Linked DNA regions of Homo sapiens: regions 1, 2 and 4 are each linked to region 3. Evidence: promoter capture Hi-C in 16 types of primary human blood cells and fetal thymus (Javierre and others, 2016). All regions are on one chromosome and are shown on one strand. Each heading gives the region's core, a stretch centred on a gene start or on the middle of the fragment in contact. The rest is flanking DNA. Distances are from core to core; before and after follow the strand shown. Region 1 holds the start of USP12 (ubiquitin specific peptidase 12). Region 2 has its middle 4.8 kb from the start of NUP58. Region 3 holds the start of RNF6 (ring finger protein 6). Region 4 overlaps MTMR6 (myotubularin related protein 6).

Region 1 (3,134 bases), core at 228-2,727, 950 kb before region 3:
TTTAATTTTTGAGACGGAATCTTACTCTGTCGCCCAAGCTGGAGTGCAGTAGCATGATCTCGGCTCACTGGTTTTTCCCAGGTTCATGCGACTCTCCTGCCTCAGCCTCCCTAGTAGCTTGGATTACAGGTGCTCGCCACCATGCCCAACTAATTTTTGTAGTTTTAGTAGAGATGGGCTTTCTCCATGTTGGCCAGGTTGGTCTCAAACTCCTGACCTCAAGTGATCCGCCCGCCTTGGCCTCCCAAAGTGCTGGGATTACAACAGGCGAGAGCCACTGTGCTGTATTTTTGAGATACTGTTTCAGTCTGTCGCTCAGGCTACAGTGCAGTGGTTCAATCATGGCTCACTGCAACCTGGATATCTCGGGCTTAAGTTATCCTCTTACTTCGCCTCACAAGTAGCTGGGACTATAGGTATGCGCCACCATGCACCACGTATTTATTTTTATTTTTAGTAGAGACAAGGTCTCACTATGTTGCCCAGGCTGGTCTTGAACTCCCTGGTCTCAAGGAAGTTGGAAGCCATCCTCCTGCCTCAGCCTCCCAAAGTGCTGGGATTACAGGCCTGATCCACTGTGCCCAGCCTAGAAATTTATTTATTTATTTATTTTTGAGAGAGTCTCACTCTGTCACCCAGGCTGGGGTGCAATGGCACAATCCCAGTTCACTGCAATCTCCACCTCCAGGATCCAATCTATTCTTATGCCTCAGCCTCCTGAGTAGCTGGGATTACAGGCGTACACTGCTACGCCTGGCTAATTTTTGTATTTTAGTAGAGACGGGATTTCACCACGTTGGCCAGGCTGGTCTCCAACTCCTGACCTCAAGTGATCCACCTGCCTCGGCCTCCCAAAGTGCTGGAATTACAGGTGTGAGCCACCATACTCAGCCTAGAAATTCATTTTAGAAAGGCCTTGTTCTTATATAAACTTATATGTAAAGCCAGTGGCTTTTGTTCCTGTGACATGTTCGGATTAATGGACAAGGAGGCATATGGGTGGTTAGCGGGATGGAGGCAGGTCTAAAATTCTGGCACATCAGACCTGTTTGCTGGAATAGAACAGCAAGTGGGAAGGACAGGATGACCACAGCTATTTATCAGGACGGGCACACAGATGGGCATGGTGACACTCGGACAAGGCCCAGGTAGGCCCTAGAGGTCTAAGATGTAGAAACCCTTGTCCAAACAGGGGGTAGAAAAGAGCAAGAAAGAATTCAGGTGGGTGATGCTTGCAAGTATAGAGAGGAAAGCCCCTGGCTGGGGTATCAGGGCTCTTGGCTTCCATGGAGGCAGGCGCTTGGAGATCCAGTCCGGCTACCATGGGGCTTGGCTATATTCAATCTGCATTCCCCCCCCAAGCAAGCTTATAATGGAATCACTATGGAAACAGTATTCATGTACCAGAAGTCTATTTTTCACTTAAATTTTGTTTGAATGCTTTTTGTTTTTGAGTGCTTTGAACCCTTGAGGTGAGGCATTTCTGATTTTACAGCTCTGCCTGAATTCAGATCCTCAACCCCACTGAATTAGGGGAACCCAGAAAAGTACCCCATCACGAGTTCAATCAGAAAATATCACAAGCTTTCTAACATAATAATTTATGAAGTTATTCTACTCACTTGAACTACTTTCTCAAATAGGAAAAAATAAAGCTGAGCTGCCAGGCATGAAGAACAGGGTGCAAATATGAATTTTATAAAAGGAGAAAGAGGAACTACCCATGCCAGTAGCCAGCACTGCCTAAGGATTTCTCACAGGGCATTTTTCTTGCTTGCGGGCTTCCTGTCTCTGGTAATATCATCATCACTGCTGGCTTGAGATCCTCCCTATTTTGCAGCTCAATGTGCAGATATTTAGAAGCCTATTATAAATTTATCGCCAACAGGCCAACAGGTTTCGCTCCTCTCCTTCCCCCATTACTTATCTTTCTTCTTAATTCAAAGAGTTAAACATGTGTAATTTGTTCTTTGCCTCTTCATTTTTGTTTAATTATTTTGTCTTTTTCTAAGTTGTGTTTGACTCCGGTGATTCATCCAATATACGTAAAAAGAAACAAACCAAGTGCTTGGGACGCATACCCGGGTTATCTTAACTGTGCAGAGCAGGTTTCCTCCCACTCCGCCCGTAGTTACCCAGATCATCGCCTCCGTTTTCTGTTTAGGCAGCGGGGGCTCGCCGTCCCCTCGCCCGCGGTGGGTGTCGCAGCTGGTCCCCTCCAGGGTTCTCCCAGATCGCCGCCGCCACCCCCGCGCCTCCCCGCCGCACCCCTTCCTACGCGGGGGTCTCTGGGTCCCCGGCTCTAGGACCGCAGGGACGCGGGCAGGAGGTGGCGCCCGCCTTCGGTCCTGCCCTCTGCCGCGCGCGGGGTGGGGACGGACCGGAGTTCCCCGGCTCGCGCACAAGGGCCGCGGAGGGGTTGCCGAGGGGTGGGCGGGGCTGCGCCGCCTGGCCGCGCCGCTGCCTGGCAGGCCGGGCATTAGGGCCTCGGCGGAGCCCGCTCCCCTGTGCGCTGGGCGGGGTGGGCGGAGGGCGGCTTCGCGTGCAGGCGCGGGCCCGGAGGCAGCGGCTGCGCCCTGCGCCGGGGCGGAGCCGGGGGCGGGCCGGCGGCCGGCAGGCGGGGGCTGGGGCCCGAGGCCGGGAGTGCCTGAGCGCCGGCGGCGACGACGGCAGCGGCGGCCCAGCGGGCTCGGTGGTTGGGTCCGCGGCGGCTCGGGGTCCGCCCGCGGGCTGCGGTGCGAGCGGGCGGCCCGGCTCCCCTCCTCCCCCGCCCGCCGCCGCCGCTGTGATTGGGTGGAAGATGGCGCTGGCCGGATGGAAATCCTAATGACAGTCTCCAAATTCGCCTCCATCTGTACCATGGTAGGTGGCGGCGAGCGGGCGGCCGGGGCTGCCGGGACCTCTCGGGCGGGCGGGCGGCGCTGGACCCGCCTCTCCCAGTGGCCGCTCGCGGGGCCTAGCGCCGGGGCGGGCGGGCGGGCTGGGCGGCCCGGGCGGCCCGGGCGGGGGCGGTTGGACGGCGCGCAGGCGGGGAGCGCGGGGGTGAGCGGCCCAGGCGGCTGGGGAGGGGGCGCCGCCTGGTGGGCCAGGGCGGCGCGAGGGTAGCGGTGAGTGGGCGACCGTGCCAGACGCGG
Region 2 (3,279 bases), core at 568-3,067, 930 kb after region 3:
TCAATGGTTTGGTTAGTGAATGGAAAACAGTAAAATAGCAGTAACTGAGCATTACGCATACATAAGTCTGAATCCTATCTGCAACTGAGCAGAACCATGGAGCACTGGAATCTGGCTTAACCTTCCTGACCTAGTCTAGGTAGAGTAACAAATCCTATCCCAAAGGATCTTCTAAATATTACGCTTTTTAACATTAGAGGACTTGAACCTATGTGTCAGTTCTATGTGAATTGCTGCTTCCAGGGATGAAGCAAGTGCTTCAGATTCTAAATTCTAGAGTAGGCCATCTTGTCTTTCCTTGCTTCTTATATTGTAAGCATTCTGTTAGAGAACTGCATCTTTTGCTGATTTGCCAGCAGGATGATGACATTGTTAATGTCATAATCAAACTGAATTATCCAAACAGAAATAGCACTGTAAAAAATTTACTTTTTTTTTTTCTTCCTTTTTGAGACAGGGTCTGGCTCTGTGCCCAGGCTGGAGTGCAGTGGCACCATCTTGGCTCACTGCAACCTCTGCCTGTCTGGCTCAAGCGATCCTCCCACCTCAGCCACCCGAGTAGCTCGGACTACATAAAGGTGTCCACCACCATGCCCGGCTAATTTGTTTATTTGTAAAGATGGGTTTTCACCGTGTTGCCCAGGCTAAAACTTCTAATTTGTGTTTGCATTAACATATCTAAAATAGGTTTGCTTTGGTGGGGGTGTTCAGATCAGGATAACCATTTGAGAACCTCTCTCAGCAGCGGTTCTAAGACAGAAAAGAAGTGGGAATCTGAAGTCTATTGAAAGGAGTCTGTAATATCTCCAGTTCTGGTCCTCTGAAATATCCAGAAAAGAGGTTATCTTTTAGAAATTACATGTAACCATTTGCCTTCAATCACAGTCTTTATCTTGAAAATTATTCTCAGAAAAGGTCTTAAATATTTTAGGGTTTTAAATATTTGAGTAGTGTCCTTCCACTTTAAAAATTCATTAAGTTCTCAAGTGATTGAACAACAGCAACAACCAAATGTATATAGAGAGATAAATCAATAATGCAAATTATAGGATGACTGTCAAAACAAGGTATATGGGTGTTCATTGTAATAATTTTACAACTTTTCTGTAGGTTTGAAATTTTCAAACTACAAAGTTAAGGGGGAAAAGCTTAAAGTTAAAACAAAAGTTCCCAATCACAGGTCAGAACAGTAATTGTCTATTTCCTGATGAATTTTTTCACTCATCACCCAATAAATGAGAAAAATAAATGTAAGGAGTTATCCATAAAGCTAAATGTATGTAATTCAAACTATAGTCATTTATTTTGAAATACACCCTTCCTATTGGCAGAGATGGGACCTGAAAAAGTTGCTTTTATGACTTGACAACTTTAGTGGATAAGGAAGGCTGAGAAGAGAAACTAAGCAATGTCAACATAAGATAAATGATGGACGCTGTCTTCTGGCCACCAATATTTATTCTTTCCTTCCTTCTTCCTTAAAACCTCAGTTTTCTCCAAAGTGGCAAACTAACCAGATAAACAACTATATGTCTCCAGCTTCCTCTATAGGTAGAGGTGGGTAGGAAACATGAGATGAGACTTCCAGAATCACTCATTTTCTTGGGGACAGATAGCTGGCATACATCTGTTTTGACTTTCTTCTCCTTTCTTCCTACTACCTGGAACTTAGACACAATGGCTGGATCTCCAATAGCCATCTTGGTCCATGAGTGACTTTAAGAATGGAAGTCATATGCAAAGGAGGGTATCACAAAAAAATAGTATGAGCTTAGGTCGTGATGGTATACTGTAGAGGCACCATACCAGCCCTATACTACCTACCTTCAGATTTCTTTTAAATGAGAGAAAAGTCTATTTGTATGTTATTTAGTCCATTAGAGCTGAATCTTTATTATTCATAACTAAATGTAATATACCTTTTTAGTAGGAGTTCACCCCAAAAGATGAATTTTACATGCGTTACTGAGGAAACCTAGGAAATATCCAAGATTGACAGAAGTCAATAATATATATAGGGCTGGAATATAACAATAAAAATGCCACCAACAACCTATTATGTAATTGCCTTGAAACACGCCAACAGAAAGGCAGTGGTCAACATGTAGTCTCAAAAAAATGGGAGCCAAAGAGGAACAATATATCTGCACTTATTGCTCTCACCTTTCATGGAAACAAGTCATTGTGCTTGACGGATACACATATTCTGGTCACTAGACAGATGTCCACCTCCATGAAGCAGGAGTATATTCATGTCTTTTCCATGTCATGGATAAAAGTTCCTTAAGCCTGCCCAATTCCCTTTGCTCTGAGCAGTTTCCCCATAATCTAATTAGACCTCTTTTATTGCTAAGAATAGGAACTCTCTCAAGGTAGTTCAAGCATAAGTGTGTGCATATATGGGGGAGGTGTGGGAACACAGAGTTATTGTATAGACACAGACAAGTTTCAAGGGAATCCAGAAAAACAGGAGTAGCCAAGCTTTGTGTATATCAGAAACCAAGAGTCAGCTTGTAAGAAATGAACTAGAGAGAGCTGCACCTACTTCAGGGAATTAAGGCATTCTGCAAGCCCCAGAGGTTGGATGAAGGGTTAAGTAATTGACTGAGTTGCCCAAGGGAGAAAGAGGAGGCATTCAGGCATCTGCTGCACACAAATCAGTGATGCCAGATTATAAAAGGTTTTGTCAAGTAAGACCTGATGCTCGGGGAGCCAAAACAGGAGCTAGAAAGCAAGCAGGAAGAAAGTGGGCCAAGACGGTCAAAACAGATTCTCCTACCCCGTCCCACCTCCATCCCACTGTCATCAAACCTGGGTGGTATAGGGAAAAGGAGAAGCTTTGAACTGGATACATTTTGAAGTATATATGTCAGATTACTCTAAAATATGAGAGAAACAGGTACTTCTCCAGGATCAACTCAAGCTCCTATTGAGGAGAGGTGAAGAGACAGCCAGCAAAGCAGGCTTGAAGGGTAGCGGTGGAGCAAAAGAAAGATACTGTCTGCTCGCACCCCACAGAACCCAGTGTTCAATAAAGTGGTCATGTAGACTAGAGCATGACTAACCACTGTGTCGGCCAATGTCAATAGCAAGTGCAAAAACCCAGACTCAGATACCACTTGGCTAAATCATCAAGGTTTACTTATCTAAAGGATTTAGAGAGAAGGACACTTAGAAAAAAAAATGGCTAGTAACCTTTTTAAAGACAGAATGAGGAGCCAGTCTCTGAACCCCTAGATCCTGAAAGAGTAAGCATCACACCAACCTTATGGAAACATA
Region 3 (3,079 bases), core at 201-2,700:
GGCTCTTTTTCCATGGGAAAAGAGGGCAAGGACTTCATTCTATGAGGACATGACTGTCTGATTCACGGCTGTCATCACCAGCACCTAATACATAGTCACACTCACTATTTGTTAAATACATGAATACATGCTAAAATAGGGTTTTATATATAGAGGGAGTATGGGAGCCCCCAAAAGGGACATTTGCTTAGTTTTATGTGTAAATATCGGGCTGGAGGGTGAGGTAAGGGTGTTATTTCAGAGGTATCAGGAAAAATTCCTTAAAGATGAGAACTGAGCTGAGTTTTGGGAGACAGAGGAAATTAGGTAAAAGTGGAGTTGGGGGTTGCTTAGGAGTTCCCATATCTTGTGGCGGAACTTCAAGCAGTTTCGGAGTGCCAAGACAACAGCCTGTAAATGTAAGCAGAAGAAAGATCTGGAAGGGCTTTCTAGGCTGTTTTATATATTTCCATTTTAGTATCCATATCCATATGCTTATTTTAAACACTTGTCCATAGATCCTTACTACACTGGTAGCTCATTGATGCTAAGGACTGCATGTAGCTTGTTATCCAGGTGCCCAGCATAATAATGGGGATATGGTAGTTCCTCAAAAGTTAATGCAGAAATGAAAGAACAAACGGAAGAATAACAAGTAACGGCATTGTGAGCACTCTCCAGTGATGAAGTCATCAGATGGTAGGGATGTCAGGAAAGGGGACTATACCAGGTTAGACAGAGACCTACTCAGCATCTTAACTAACGGTGAGGTAAGTTTAGTAAGCCTCACATCTCAGAAATAAAATCAGAGGGAGGAATGTTGGGAGTTTCAAACTGCTTTCCTAGCGGGAAGGTGAAAAAACACAAAATATAGTGGGGTGCGGTGCCTCATGCCTGTAATCCCATTTTGCTGAGGTGAGAGGATTGCTTGAGGCCGAGTACGAAACCAGCCTGGGCAACATAGCGAGACCCCCGTCTCTACAAAAGAAAAAATGTGAAATTAATGGCAAGCGCCTGTAGTTCCAGCTACTGGGATGAGGAGGGAGGATCGCTGGAGGCTGCAGTGAGCTACGATCGCTCTAGCCTGGGCGACAGGATGAGACCTTGTCTCAAATAGAGATAGACAGACAGACAGACTTCAGAATTTATTAGGGTTTGTAATTTCCAGGTTCCAAAGCACAGCAAGGGAAAGGGCCTGGCTGGGTAGTACGTTACACCCGGAAGTAAAGAGACGCATACACCGTTGGGTGCACTTTATAGTCTGGCTGGCAAACGAGCGACACCGACGCGCAGAGTTAAGTGCTGGGACTTCCCAAGCCTGGAAAGCAGACCGTGTCTCTGCAACTACGCGGCTGCCACGAGCGCTGAGCGGCCGGGCATTTGGCCTCGAGGAGGAGGCACTGTAAGGGCGGCGCAAGAGGGCGGAACGCGGGACGCCAGGCACCCTAGCTCCCGACGGACGCAGTTTTCAGTTGCACGGGCGAGCTCCGGGCCGGCTGCGGAGCGACTCCCCGCCGCCAAGTGGGCGGCGTGGCTGTCGGGAAAGAAGGGCTGGGGCCTGCCGTTCTTCCTCCCGAGTATCCCCTCCAGCTGGACGACCCCACGCTGCAGCACGGGCTTCCGGCTTCTCTCCTCAGTGGCCAATTCGAGGGCACAGCGGGCTCCGGAGGCGCGGCGGCAAGCCTATCCCGCCTCCCAACCACAGCCTCCAGCACCCGAGAGAACGGCCGCCCACAGCACACGTTCTCCGGACAGGAGGGCGAAGGCCCAAGACCTGGAGAGGTGGGCTCGAGGGAAAGATCTGGGTCCCACCACTACTTCCTGGAGACGCCGGGGAAAGCAGGCCATCCTTCGAGCCACCCATCTCTTCTCCGATTGGTTAACTGCCTTCTTATTGCGCTCCGCTGGCTGGTGATTGGTTGGGATGCACCGTCTATCACCTGCTTCCTTGTGAGAATCTAGGTCTCTAAGGGAAGCGTTACTTGAGGCTCGGTTGGGAAGAGGTTGGTTGGGCCTCTTGAGCCCACTTTATTTATCGTAGTGGGGATCGTCCCCCGGCGCGAGCTTCCGTCGCAACGGCCGGGAAAGAAACCAGTAGCGGGACGGAGGGCGGGGGTGGCAAGAAAGTCAAGGTTTAGAAGTAAGCCGGAGACGCCTAACCCTGGTAACATCCGAATGGGAACGGGATAGGAAGGAAGGCCTTTGAGAGAGGAGGCGTAAACCCAGGAACAGTGACAGTGTAGGACGAAAGGCCTAAGTTTGTTGCGGAAGGTAGGGGCCTTGCGGGAGGTTTTCGTGACCTAATTGTATGGGGATCTAATTTTCTAGATGTGTCTAACAAAATCCACTGGAGAATTTGCTTTGGCTTTGCAGCAGAGTGGGGAGACTACCACCCGTTCCTGGCCTTTAAAGAAACAGTTTATTGAATTATTCAACTCTCTTTTATTGCTTCAGATGGGCAGCTCTCAAAAAAGGCACAAACAATTGAAGGATGGATACCATGGCATATGTTAAAAGCGTGTTGAAAGGAAAATAAGGTATTCGCTTTGTTTTCATTGTGATTAACTGTATAAGAAAATTACCTTTAAGGAGAAGCTCAAGTTTTAAATAATATTAGGGTAACTTGATTTTATGATAGGCTTCAACTTGTAAAATTATTTATTACAAAAATCCTATTATTGCTGTACCTACGAAATATGCTCTTTGCTAATTATGGTCTTAATCTGAAGATAGAGATCTTGAGTTTTTAGTAGTGTTAATTCATATTTGAGTGGATAATGTTACTAGGTCATTTGTTCAAAATGACATAATAAAATAACCACAGTGAAAAAAATCCTTGAATTTGTAATTTAGTGTTACAGGTGAAATTGAATAGTTGCTTACTCCAACAGTATTTTAGACTTGTAGGCTAATTTCACCTTATATTTAAAGCAGCTTGCTTATTAAATACCTAGTGTATTTCGAGAGGCAGAGTTGCACAGTTGCTTCACTGGTAGCCTAGCCATTTGAGCCTCCAGCCTCTACTGAGTCAGGTGCTGTATTACTCATACCCTTTAGTGACATGCCAGAAATTGTCGAGGAATAGTTTATTTCATCTGCA
Region 4 (3,094 bases), core at 71-2,570, 950 kb after region 3:
TTCATTTTTTTCTTTTATTGTTTGTGCTCTGTTGTGACTTAAGAAATCCTTTCCTATGTCAAAGTCATAAAGGTTCTTCTATATTTTCTTCTAAAAGCTTAAGTTTGATCCTGTAAGTTGTTAATACATCTGGGAAATATTTTGGTGTATGATGTGACTAGGGATTCATTTTTATGTTTTCGTATAGACGACCGGCGCCATTTATTGACTGTTTCATTCCATTCGTCTTTAGTACCAGCTCTGTCATAAAAACATCTTCCATGTATGTGAGGCTCTGCTTTTGAGTTTTCTTTTCTATTCGTTTGGTATACTGACTACACTGTACCACACTGTTTTATTGACTATAGCTTTTAAATAAATTTTGATATCAAGTAGAGCATACCCTCCCAACTTGTTCTTCAAAATTGCCATGGCTATTTTGGATTCTTTGTTCTTCCTTTTCTGTTTTAGAATTCATTTAGCACACATTTATTGAGCATATACAGTGTGTTTCATATCACTATTCTAGATATTTTGGAAACAATAGCCAATAATAACAGGTACAAATTCTATCCTCATGGAGCCAACATTCTAGTGCTGAAAGATATTGATAACATCACCAATAAGTAGGTAGATAAGTAAAATACATAGTGATAAGTGCTAAGCAGAAAAAGAAGTAGGAAAGGTGGTTAGAATATGGGGCTTGTGTCTCTGTGCCTGAGAGGAAGAGACTTGGGCATGTTTCTGTGCCACTAGCTCTGCCAGCTTTTAGAACCTCCACTTTATAGATGAAGAAGCTGAAGCTCAGGCAAGTGGCAATTCATTCATTGTTACACAGGCAGTGTAGAGTAGTAAAATGAGCTCACGTAGACTGTGTTGTCAGGTAGCTTTGGGTTCAAATGTCAGCTCTGCTGTTCACTGCTTGGGTGACTATGTCAGGGTGCTTTTGGCTGTAAGTAAATGAATACCTGACTGAACATGGTGCCAAACCTTGCAAAGCAGGAGAGGTGGGTAGGCTTTCCTCAGTAGCCCCATTGCTTATCAGGGAGGAGAAGCTCTCTCAGAAGGCCCCCAGCTAACTTTCCCTAACATCTGATTGTTTGAAAATCCGGACACTTGGCTACTCCTACCTGAAAAGGAGGCAGAGAATGTAGATCCTAGTATTTTTTATCTCTTGAGGGAAAAGGATGTTGCAAGTAAGGAAGGGGGGGAGGAATGGCAGACCAACAGTGTCTGCCAAAAAGTATGTAACTTTCGAGCTTAGCACCCACATAAAATGGGTATATAGCATCAGTCATCATGTAGGGCTTTTGTGAGTCTTAGATGAAAGAAAATATGAAAAACATCTGTGCGTAAAACATAGTAGTGGCGTAAATCATAGCTGCTCATACTATTTTTCTAAGCAGTTGAATCAAGATTAGAGGTCAATTATGCCTCCCAGTCCAGAGATTGATGTTGCTCTGTGGTACACCCCTGTACTGCACATACTGTCATACTGTTCTCTTCTCTTTCTCTCTTTGATTGTACTCTTCTGATTTCCCCAAGAAGGCTAACCAATTGATATATGATTCTATATCAGCTGTTAAGGAAACTCACTTGAGATACTGATCTTGGAGAAGTTGTATTCCCTAGAGGCACTGGATCCCTTCTTCATCCAGTGTTTGTCCAAGAATTGCCAGGAATTTTACCTAGCAGTACCTTCTGAAATAATTAGTCATATTATCATCCACTCCATCTACCCCTCCTTTGTCCACTTGCTTCAGTATTTTCTCTATTATCCATCTCGTAGAGATATAAATGAAGGCTTCCCGTATAGCTATTCCCTCAGCTGCTGGGAATGTAGTTTGAGGGGCAACAAAAAGATATCTGTGTTATTCTCTACTCTCCTATTGTTGTCTTTTAAATGCTTTCTTATCAGTATATTCCCTTATGTTTGCCCTAAATGAAGTTTGTTTAATATACTAGAGCCATAGAAATGAACATTTTAGATCCAGAAGGGGCCGTATCAACCTTATATCCTTTTTCTCACTTTACAGTTGATTATGTTTTCAAAATCACATAACTAGTTAGTGGTAGGACCAGGTTTCTTCATCATTTTCTTCCTGCAAATACTTTTGGGTTTTTATAATTAAAATCAGAACAGTGATGTACAGGTTGAATATCCCCAATCCAAAAATTCAGCACTGACATGATGTTCAAAGGAAATGCTCATTGGAGCATTTCAGATTTCAGATTTTCAGATTAGGGATGTCAATTGATAAGTATAATGCAAATATACCAAAATCTTTAAAAATCCAAAATTTGAAATACTTCTAGTCCCAAACATTTTGGATAAAGGGTTCTCAACTTGTAATATTACAGTTAGCTTTTATTCCTTATTCTCTGTTTAAATGTTATTATTAGATCATTTTTAGTAACTTGTCACAGGCGCATTAATATAAGTGATAATGGTGCTAAATCTTAGCCGTAAGGACTATATATGTGTGTGTGTGTGTTAATTATTTGTTCTCTATGTAGTTTTAATTTCCATTGACAACTGCTTCTCTCATTGTTTTTCAAGCTTTTCTTGATTATTTAAATGCATTTAATTTTGCAGGTGAACTTTAGATTTAAGATGTATAATTAATATTAACATATAATGTAATAATTACATAATATATGTGTATTATATAAATAATCATCCCTCACTACAAAACAAAGCAGATTGGAATTTTTAAACTGAAATTTATGTTGAATTTTTAGATTAATTTGGGATAAATGGATCTCTTGCATGATTAGGAGCCTATGATCTTTTATTCTCCAGAAAAGTTTTCTATAAATATTTTAATAGGAGTGTTATTAAGAAAAAGTAGGCATTTTTAGTAGCAAACAAAATATTATTGGTAGTAGGTGAGAACAATAAGCATATGTTTAAAATACCATCAAGTATTGAGTTTATAGTAGGACTTTTTATTCATTCATTTAGTAAACTCTTATTGTGATAAAGGAGGTATCAGGGATGACATCCATATTTCTGGCTTGGGCATTCACATTTAAAAAATTAAAGTTGAAGTGTGTGATATATAACATTTGCAAGCTTTTTGATTTGAGGAGGGCAATTATAATGTTCCAGGTA

The links. Contacts are between HindIII fragments. The CHiCAGO score rates a contact against its expected background, and 5 or more counts as called.
Region 1: a fragment that was not itself captured here is called in contact with the fragment with the promoter of RNF6 in region 3 in 1 of 17 cell types (total CD8 T cells); the score reaches 5.2 in total CD8 T cells.
Region 2: a fragment that was not itself captured here is called in contact with the fragment with the promoter of RNF6 in region 3 in 3 of 17 cell types (non-activated CD4 T cells, total CD8 T cells and fetal thymus); the score reaches 6.3 in non-activated CD4 T cells.
Region 4: a fragment that was not itself captured here is called in contact with the fragment with the promoter of RNF6 in region 3 in 1 of 17 cell types (neutrophils); the score reaches 7.6 in neutrophils.

What each region holds. Positions count from the first base shown.
Region 1 is chr13:27,171,320-27,174,453 of GRCh38, reverse strand. USP12 (ubiquitin specific peptidase 12) reads left to right here and starts at 2,643. Exons shown (of 9, transcript NM_182488.4): 1 at 2,643-2,862. The coding sequence starts at 2,815. It overlaps USP12-DT (USP12 divergent transcript), which reads right to left and starts at 2,195. Exons shown (of 2, transcript NR_046548.1): 1 at 2,082-2,195. RefSeq lists an enhancer at 1,867-2,056 and silencers at 2,117-2,756, 2,897-2,946, 3,007-3,096. The HindIII fragment of the contact is 218 bases long and covers 1,369-1,586 here.
Region 2 is chr13:25,295,216-25,298,494 of GRCh38, reverse strand. No RefSeq gene overlaps it. Among named protein-coding and RNA genes, the nearest start is that of NUP58, 4.8 kb to the left of the region's middle. The HindIII fragment of the contact is 1,333 bases long and covers 1,151-2,483 here.
Region 3 is chr13:26,220,685-26,223,763 of GRCh38, reverse strand. It overlaps RNF6 (ring finger protein 6), which reads left to right and starts at 1,450. Exons shown (of 5, transcript NM_005977.4): 1 at 1,450-1,761; 2 at 2,434-2,516. RefSeq lists enhancers at 1,390-1,769, 915-1,796, 1,797-2,678 and a silencer at 2,220-2,269. The HindIII fragment of the contact is 7,611 bases long and covers 1-3,079 here.
Region 4 is chr13:25,269,199-25,272,292 of GRCh38, reverse strand. The region is part of intron 2 of MTMR6 (myotubularin related protein 6); the gene reads left to right. Among named protein-coding and RNA genes, the nearest start is that of MTMR6, 17 kb to the left of the region's middle. The HindIII fragment of the contact is 2,442 bases long and covers 100-2,541 here.